Regions from separate parts of the Homo sapiens genome. Here region 1 is linked to region 2. The links are contacts of gene promoters, found by promoter capture Hi-C in human tissues and cell types (Jung and others, 2019). All regions are on one chromosome and are shown on one strand. Each heading gives the region's core, a stretch centred on a gene start or on the middle of the fragment in contact. The rest is flanking DNA. Distances are from core to core; before and after follow the strand shown.

The links. Contacts are between HindIII fragments. The study calls those that stand out against the background at their distance.
Region 1: a fragment that was not itself captured here is called in contact with the fragment with the promoter of BARX2 in region 2 in 2 of the 25 tissues and cell types used here (pancreas and spleen).

What each region holds. Positions count from the first base shown.
Region 1 is chr11:129,405,985-129,410,293 of GRCh38, reverse strand. All of the region lies in intron 1 of BARX2 (BARX homeobox 2), which reads right to left. Among named protein-coding and RNA genes, the nearest start is that of BARX2, 32 kb to the right of the region's middle. The HindIII fragment of the contact is 4,239 bases long and covers 1-3,778 here.
Region 2 is chr11:129,372,977-129,377,146 of GRCh38, reverse strand. It overlaps BARX2 (BARX homeobox 2), which reads right to left and starts at 1,299. Exons shown (of 4, transcript NM_003658.5): 1 at 925-1,299. The coding sequence starts at 1,111. The HindIII fragment of the contact is 19,007 bases long and covers 1-4,170 here.

The DNA.
Region 1 (4,309 bases), core at 410-2,909, 33 kb before region 2:
AAATAACTTTTGGAAAATAAAAATATGATAGCTGAATTTTCAAAGTAGAAGACAGCTGGAAGATCAAATTGAGGAAAAAATAAAAAATAGATTAAAACGCAAGGATATAGAATATAATATTAACAATAGTAGAGCAAAGACAAATCTGTAGAAAGTAATATTAACAACACTAGGTACTGTTCCATAAACATTTTCTATTCATTTGTAAATGTACATTGACATTTGATCTTTGTAAAAAGGTACCATCAATAATTCCATTTTATAGATGAGGCTATTAAGGCCCATATAAGTTAAGTCAAGGTTCTAAGATAGGACACAGAGTCAGAATACAAAGTAGAGAAATGGGAAGAGAAAGATAAGAAAATTAGTGGATCAACCTAGGACTTGTAATATCCAATTGGTAGAAATTCCAAGAAAAAATAATGGAGGAAATTATAAATAAAAGACTATAACAGAATATTTCTTAACTGCAGGTGAATAAGATGAATTGGCCATCTTAACAATGAATGAAAAAAGACTCACCAAAATGCAGATCATTTTAAAGTTTCAGGAAACAGGATGGAAATCAAGTCCTAAAAGTTTGCAAAGAGGGGAAAAAATCAAACCAGGCCACGTGCACTTTTGATATCACAATAAAAGCACAATAAAAGAACAGCTACTGGTAAAAGTTTCTCTAAGGCAGAACTTAACCTTTACCAGCTCTTCCAAAGTTATCAATCCTAAAAATGGTGAATGGACAGCAATTATCCCATCAAATATATTCACTTTTCACCACGTCATCTAAAAGATGTTCCTGTTTCATAAAAGAGAAACAAGCCTATGGTTTAGTCAGCTTGGTTACCAAGCCCCTGGAGGGTGGGGGGAATGTGTATGTGGTGGGGGATGATAGAGATCCTAGAACAGACCGTTTAAAAATTGTGCTTGAGCCCTTAAAAAAAACACACTGAAGAATTCACTAAAAGCAAGTATTTGGTTGCTTTACTTTTCAGTAGCATCCTAGACTAGTAGATAGACTATCACTCACATCCTTAAACACAAGGCAGAGAACGGTGGGTGGGATGGAAAACATGAATCGCTCGCCTGAGAGAACATGAAATTTCAGAGCATGCTGACATTTGAGAGGTGGGGAAGTTATTCCATTATACTTCAGTTTTGAAAAGTAAATTAGCAAAGGGAGAGAGAGATTGCTCAAAACTTCCATGATTTCTCTGAGAGCTCTTGTATTATCATATGGGTAGCTAGCTCCTGGCCCACAAGGTCTAAGTTATTCTAGATTCTGGATGGTGAATATCACTCCCCTTTGATTAGTTTGAGGGCAACAAAGGTCACAGCCCATCTCTTAGGGTTCAAGTTCAATCGTATTCAATGGGTGTTTGCATGGAAACCTTCTCATGTAATAAATAGTCAAAAATATTTATTGAGCACCTGTGGTAGACAAAATAAACATGGTCTGCTCAAGGAGCTTGCAGTCTAGAGAGAGAAAAATAAACAAATAATCCAATAAAGAAATATATAAACAGATATTTAATCATGACTTGGGGTAAATACTGTACCATGAAAGGAATAAACAGGCTTCAGTGATGGAGCATGTATGGGGGAGGCTGAGGGTGGGGAGGCCGAGATAGTCTCCAAAGAGGAGACATTTCAGAAGAAATCGAAAGGCTGAAAAGCACCAGCCAGAGAGTGTTCCAGAGAGTGGAACAACATAGGTTAAGAGCCAGAAACACGGAAAAGCTTATGTTCTAGGAACAGCAAAGAGGATGTGGATGAAGCACAGTGAAGAGACAGGCAGGGCCAGGTCATGCAGGAACAAAACCGACGCACTGTGAGCTAAGCATCCCTGTGCGGGTTGATTAATGGCTATCTTCTAGGGCCTGTGAGGGGCTGTGGTCCTTGTTTTATTATTCCTTTTTCAATATTTTTACTAAATTTTTACTAAAATGTGTCTAGAAACAAAAAAGGTATTCTATCAAATCTCATGTCACAAAAAAAGTAATGTATTGCATGACATCATCGGGATTTTTAAAGCTTAAAATGGACTAACATCAACAGAACCGAATATATCTTCCAGTGGCTTTCAGGAATCCAATCTCTTTAGCTTCTTCTCTAATCACCAAATGTATTGTTCTAGTCCTTCTGTCAGTCCCCCAAATGCCCCAGGCCTTTCCATGCCATACTCCTGCAGAGGTTGTTCTGTTTGCCCGCTTCTCCTTCTTCACTTGGTTAGCTTTCATCTGTGCTCCAACTTTTTTTTTTTTTTTTTTTTTTTTTTTGAGACGGAGTCTGGCTCTGTCTCAATCTCCTTACCTCATGATCGGCCCGCCTTGGCCTCCCAAAGTGCTGGGATTACAGGTGTGAGCCACCGCGCCCAGCCTGTGCTCCAACCTTTAACAGAGGCGCCAAATCCTCCAGGGTGCTTCTCTGACCCCATCCACACCCTCCTCCACTGCAAGTGAGGGGTAAGAGCCTTTCCTCCGTGTTTGATGAGCATCTTGCATGCATTTTTATCACACCCCTACCACACTGTATGGATAATTTCTGTTTATGCATGTCTTTCCTACTGGACTGAACTTGAATCCAAAAACTGCATCTTAGTCCAGAATCATATTTTCGAGACAACATTTAGTAGAGTGCTGCATATTTAGTAGGTACTCAAAGTTTACTGAACTGTATTATCCACTAATAAGTATAATATGAAAAACATCTGATTTCACAGCTGTCTGTGAAGTGGGGATGAGTAAAACATGGGATTTGGGCTGATCCTAGCGCAAGTCTCAACAGAAGTGCAAAGCATAGACTGTGCATAAAGTGTTATGTCCAATTTTGAAGTCAGGTTTTAAATGACCTGTAACTCTGCAAAAGAGGGTATTGAGAGCAGGGATGGGTTTGGAAACAACGTCATCTAAGGAATTGCTAATAGAACTAAATGAGCCCCTAATGAGGGAAAGCTGTGTCTTCTTCAACTTGTATCACTAGTAAATAGCATCATACGCAAAACAGGTGCTCAACTGAGGTTTCTCAAATGTGTTACATGAAGATGTAGGAGTTTGGTCTGATGTGACTGAGTAGGGTTATAGGAAGCTGTCCTCTCCACCAGCCGTATTCAAGCAGAGACTGAGACCACCATGGAGGCTCTGAGGCTCTGTGGGTGAAGGCTCTACAGCATGCAGGAGGTTAAACAAGTGACTTCTGAGGTCCCATTCGCAAGCTGTAGGACTTAGAGTCTATACTGGAATATACGCAAGAGCAGAGGTGTGTGCCCAACATATCCTAGAATATCCTTCCCGTAGTAGGATATAAAGTAGACCACTGTCAGCTTTATTAATTAGCTGCCCACTAAGTGCTTCCAACTCCATGGGTTGGATACTTGAAAACAGAAGAAAGTCACAGTTGCATTTTTTTAACCTGATTTTTAAAATATTCCTATAAAACCAGTTCTTTAATTACTCCAGTGGTCCCTTTGCTCCCATTCTGTCATCATCAACATCATCATCATCAATTATTTCATGTGAATCCAAAAACTGAGGGTCGATGTCCTAGTTTGCCATGACATGCAGGCTCAACTGAACTAAAGAGGCAGTTATGAACTCAATCACCGTTGAGGCTGGTTAGCCCAGGACTGGGGGGTCCACCTCCTTCAGGGTCCCTTCTCAGAGAGCAGAGCCTTGGGAGGTGCCTGCAGTGTCCTCCCTCCTCCACCTCCCCAAGCACTGTCACAGCAGCCACCTCTCCTACACTAGCTATGTTACTGCAATACAACTGTTGCTTGCACATCTGTCTCCCCACTAGCTGGAGGCTCCTTAGAAGCTGGAACTGTGCCTTATTCACCTTGTATCTCTACATAGGTCACCCAAGGAACAATACAGCCCGGGAATATGAGTGTGCACTCTGGTGTCGGGTAGACCTGAATTTGTGTTTAGACTCTGCTACTACCAAGTTGGGTAGCCCTGAAGGAATTAATCTCTTTGAGCCATTTTTCTAAACTGTGAAAATGAAGACAAAAGTAATAAAGACAAAAGAAACTTGCTGTAGGATTACTGTAAGAATTAAATGAGATTTGTGTGACTTTTATGAATGAAGAGCTCCTTAAATGTTTGTTTAAAACAATGGGCACAAGGAATTTCAGATGAATGTGTGTTTATCATGATTTAGTACCATCCATTTATTATTTTTTAAATATTGATTTAGAGTTACCATAGGCGAGGCACTGTGCTATGCTCAGTAGGTAACAAATATGTTTAAGAAAAAAACCTCTTTGTCCAGGAATTCATAATCTAGTAATGAGATAGATAAGTAACATACATAGGTA
Region 2 (4,170 bases), core at 50-2,549:
CTTACCTTTAATGGAAAGCACACTCAATAACTTTTTTCTGATAAAAAGTGCTCCTACTTCTTTTTCGTTTTATTATACCCATGTTCCATAACCTAAATCCTAACAATGCCGAGATACTTTGAAACTTGGATCTTCTCTTAATGCATTCAAAATTTTAAAAGTACCTTGGATTTATTTTCGATAGAAACTCTACTACGTTTTCAATATATGTATTAAGTTCTCTTTATCTTTACTATTGCTCTTACCTCCCGTGAAGAGAGAAAACCAGGTGTGAGTAATGTTTTCATTGTTACCATTGCTGGTTTTGGTCACTTAAGACAAACGAGGGTGACCTTTTCGGCTTGACTTAAGACAAACGAGGGTGACCTTTTCGGCTTGTGCCACAAAGACAATGTACTTCAGAACTACTTTCTCAGAGGGCGATCATTGTAAGCAAAGCTCAGTGAATTCGAGATTTTGTTGAGAACCTCAGGATACTGATTTACTTGCAAAATTCACAGTGGAGACAGTAGGAGGCTGGACAAGTTAACTCAAGGTGAGATGCAAGGCCGCCAAGCTCAAGTTTGAAATTCACACACACCACCACTTCCTGAAACAACGATTTAGACGCTGAACCTGCTCAAGTGTTTGAACTTTCAGCAGGAAACGAGGAAGCGTTCTCCTCCGAGCAGGACAATCAGGCGTTGCGCGAGCAGCCCACTCCTAAGGCCCTGCCGCCTTTATTTCCACTCGTGCCATCCACACCTTGCGTGGTCCTTCCCGGCCACGTCGCAGATGCCTTTGCAATGCCCACCGCTTGCTGAGGCGCAGGAAAAGAATCCCTTAACTTAACCCTTCCTCTCGCCCTCGGATCGCAAAGCACAGGCCACCTACACGGACGTGAAAGCTACCGAACCCCACTTATCCCCTAGCGGAGCGTCTTACCCGTACAGGAATGCAGGGGCTTGGGTCGCACGACCAGCGACGGGCACACGGAGTAGAGGGAAAGTTTCTCAAAGTAATCGCAGGTCTCCTTGGAGAGGATCTCGTCGATCATGAAAGTCTTGTAGCGCCGCCTGGCTGCTTTGAGCTGGCCGGGCGAGCTCAGCCTCAGCTCGGCGTGGCAGTGCATGGTGAGCCGGCGCGAGCGTCCGCCGGCCCGAGCGCGGCTGCGAGTGCCCGGCCCGCTGGGGCCGCGGGGCTGGCGCGACGGCGGGGCCTGGGCCCCGCTCCCGGCAGCTGGGGAGGCGGCGGGGCTCGGGTGGCGCGCGGAGGAGAGCGGGTAGCGGGCGCGCCTGCCGCGCGTCTAGACCCACCCGCAGATCAGCATCTTCGCTGAGCCTTTTTGGGACAACGCAGCTGTCAATCAGCGCGAGCTTCCTGCAGGGCCGGGTGCGGAGTGTGTGCTGAGGGGCGTCCGCGCCCACCCCGCCCCCGCCCGCCCGTGCCACTCCGGCGCCGACCTGCGCGCCTAGTGCCCGGCGGCTCTCAGTCGCTGCCTCCCGCTCTGGTGTCTCGCGCTCCTCTGCCTGGCTCTCTATTTTAAGACGCTCGTTTTGGCTCTCCTCCCCCTCCCCCCCGGGACGCGCTCCAGGTGTGTGTGCAGGAGTGTGCGCGCGGTGCGGGGAGCGCGCACCGCCCCAGCCCGCGGCCAAGGCCCAGGCCGGTAGCTCCCCGGGGCAGTGTTCCCCATGAGCACCTTACTGCCTGTCCTGCCACCCGCCGGCCCGGCTCCCAGTGTCCGCAGCCCAGCGGGAGGGCACGTTCAGGTCTCTTACTAGAAAGAAGTCTAGTCCTCACTAGGCTCCCGGGACTTCGGGCCACAGAGCCAGTGCCCCCGAGGACCCACCGTGCCTTTCTCCTTCCCCGCGTGGACGGTTTCCCGAAGACCGCGGCTTCCCAAGCCCTCCACTCGCAGTCTCGCAGCCCGCGCTGAGCCTGCGCGCTCCGAGCGTAAGACTTTTGAGCTGAAGTTGCAAACTTGACTGCCCCAAGATCCCAAATCATAAATGACCCTGGCCCCGTCCGTTACCCTCATAAAAAACTGAGAAAAAAAAAAAGATAAGAAAAGAAAAACTAATAAAAGTGTGAGTTATCGCCGGGCGCGGTGGCTCAAGCCTGTAATCCCAACATTTGGGAGGCCGACGTGAGACGATAGCTTGAGGTCAGAGGTTCGAGACCAGCCTGGTCAATATAGGGAGACCCTGTCTTTACAAAAGAAAAATTAAAAACAGGCATGGTGGTGCACGCCTGTAGTCCCAGCTACTGGAGAGGTTGAGGCAAGAGGAAACCTGTAGTCCCAGCTATTGGAGAGGTTTAGGCAGGAGGAAATCTTGAGCCCAGGAGTTCGCGGCTGCAGTGAGCCGGGATCTCGTCACTGCACTCCAGCCTGGGCGACAAGAGCGAGATTCTGACTTTTTAAAAAAGTGTGCGGTTTTTTTTAAAACATTGTTTATAAAAACATTTTTTCCTCGTTGGAAAGGGTCAGAGCTGCACGATTCTAGGGAGCCGGCGGGCACTGGGGCAGCCTGTCCCATGCGGGCTTCTCCCAGCGCCCGAGTCTTCCGGCAAAGGGGCTTTCAATATCCGGATCCCTCGCGATACGACCGGGTTAGAGAGTCGCGAAGACAGGCGTTTATTGGGTGATTTGCCTTTTTCTTTCCAGGCTCTTAGTCTTAGGGTCTGTTCCAATCAAAATCTGTACGGACTTTAGTTGTTCATTGGAATTGCTGCGTAAAGGGGACCCCGCCGAGCCTCCGCGCCCGGGAAGCCTCCGGCAGCCTGAGTCGCGCCCGGTGTTCGGCGGGAACAGCCCAGTGCACGCCCGTTTCCACGACTTTATGTTGGAATGAGTGTGCATGGGGTTGGAAGGAAAACGCACGACAGGGACACTGAGAAGTATAGACGCGGATGGCCTTCCCTAGGGCCGAGTTTGGGGCCGGTGACATTTCCTCCCCGCTCCCAGCCTAGAAGCGTCCGCGAGTGCCGGCGGGCTCTCTGCGGAGCTGCTTGCCCAGGGGGCCCTGGTGGCCGCGGAAGCAAGTAAATGAGGGCGCCTGGGCCGGTGATTAAACTAGGAGGGAGGGACACGCCCAGAGGACTAATCATTAGGCTGTTAGAGAAAATAGATTTTTTCTTTTTTTTTTGAGACCGAGCCTCACTCTGTCGCCCAGGCTGGAGTGCAGTGGCGTGATCTCGCCTCATTGCAACCTCTGCCCCCCAGGTTCAAGCGATTCTCCTGCCTCAGTCTCCCGAGAAGCTGGGATTACAGGCGCCTGTCACCGCGCCCGGCTAACTTTTGTATTTTTTAGTAGAGACCAGGTTTCACCATCTTGGCCAGGCTGGTCTTGAACTCCTGACCTCGTGATTCACCCGCTTCGCCTCCCAAAGTGCTGGGATTACAGGCGTGAGAAAATAGATGTTAAGAGGCCAAGTCACAGCCTAGCATTAGACAAGGCCCGCAACGCGTCTTTGAGGAACTTCATTCCCGAAGTATTTGCAAACTGGCCTCCCCTCCCCTCCTCTCCATCTAGAATTGTTTTCTTTCATTCTCTTTCTCCATGCAGAGGCGGCTGCAGGGCAGGCGAGAACTGCTGCCAGGTGTCCGGGTGGCGCCGGGGGTCCTGCCGCCGGACTCTGGGGTCTACAGGCTGGCCCCAGGCGCGCCCCCTGCTTCCGCGGCGGGACCCTGAGGCTGGTCCGCGGTCAAAGCGCGGGACCCGGGACAGCTCACCGCTCAGCCCTGGCATCGCCGTCCGACGCCACGACGGAGGGGGTTCTCCCGGGCGCAAGCCGAGAGGGAAACCGCTGCGCCGAGTCGGGGCTGGGTCCCAGGGGCTCAGCGTTCGCTCCCGGGGCAATGCCGGGCGGGGAGCTTTAGGCGCCCCGAGGAAAGTGAGCCGCTGGTAGGCAGCCGCCAGTAAACTGAGTGCTTGCGGGCGATCTCACCCGCAGCGCCGACTACGAGGCGGGCTTGGAGCTGGGGACCAGCACCTGAGCGACAGCACCAGGACCCGACGCCCGACGAGGGGCCGAGCGCGTCGCGTCTATACTTTCTATCTGCCCGGCGTGTGCCCACAGAATGCGGCACTATTCGGGGCCCCGACTTTGCATTGCTCTTCTTTTCCTTAACCTCTTTTCTTCTCTCTGGTTCTTCCCCTTCCTTCCACCGCCACTGACTCCTCTCCTCTT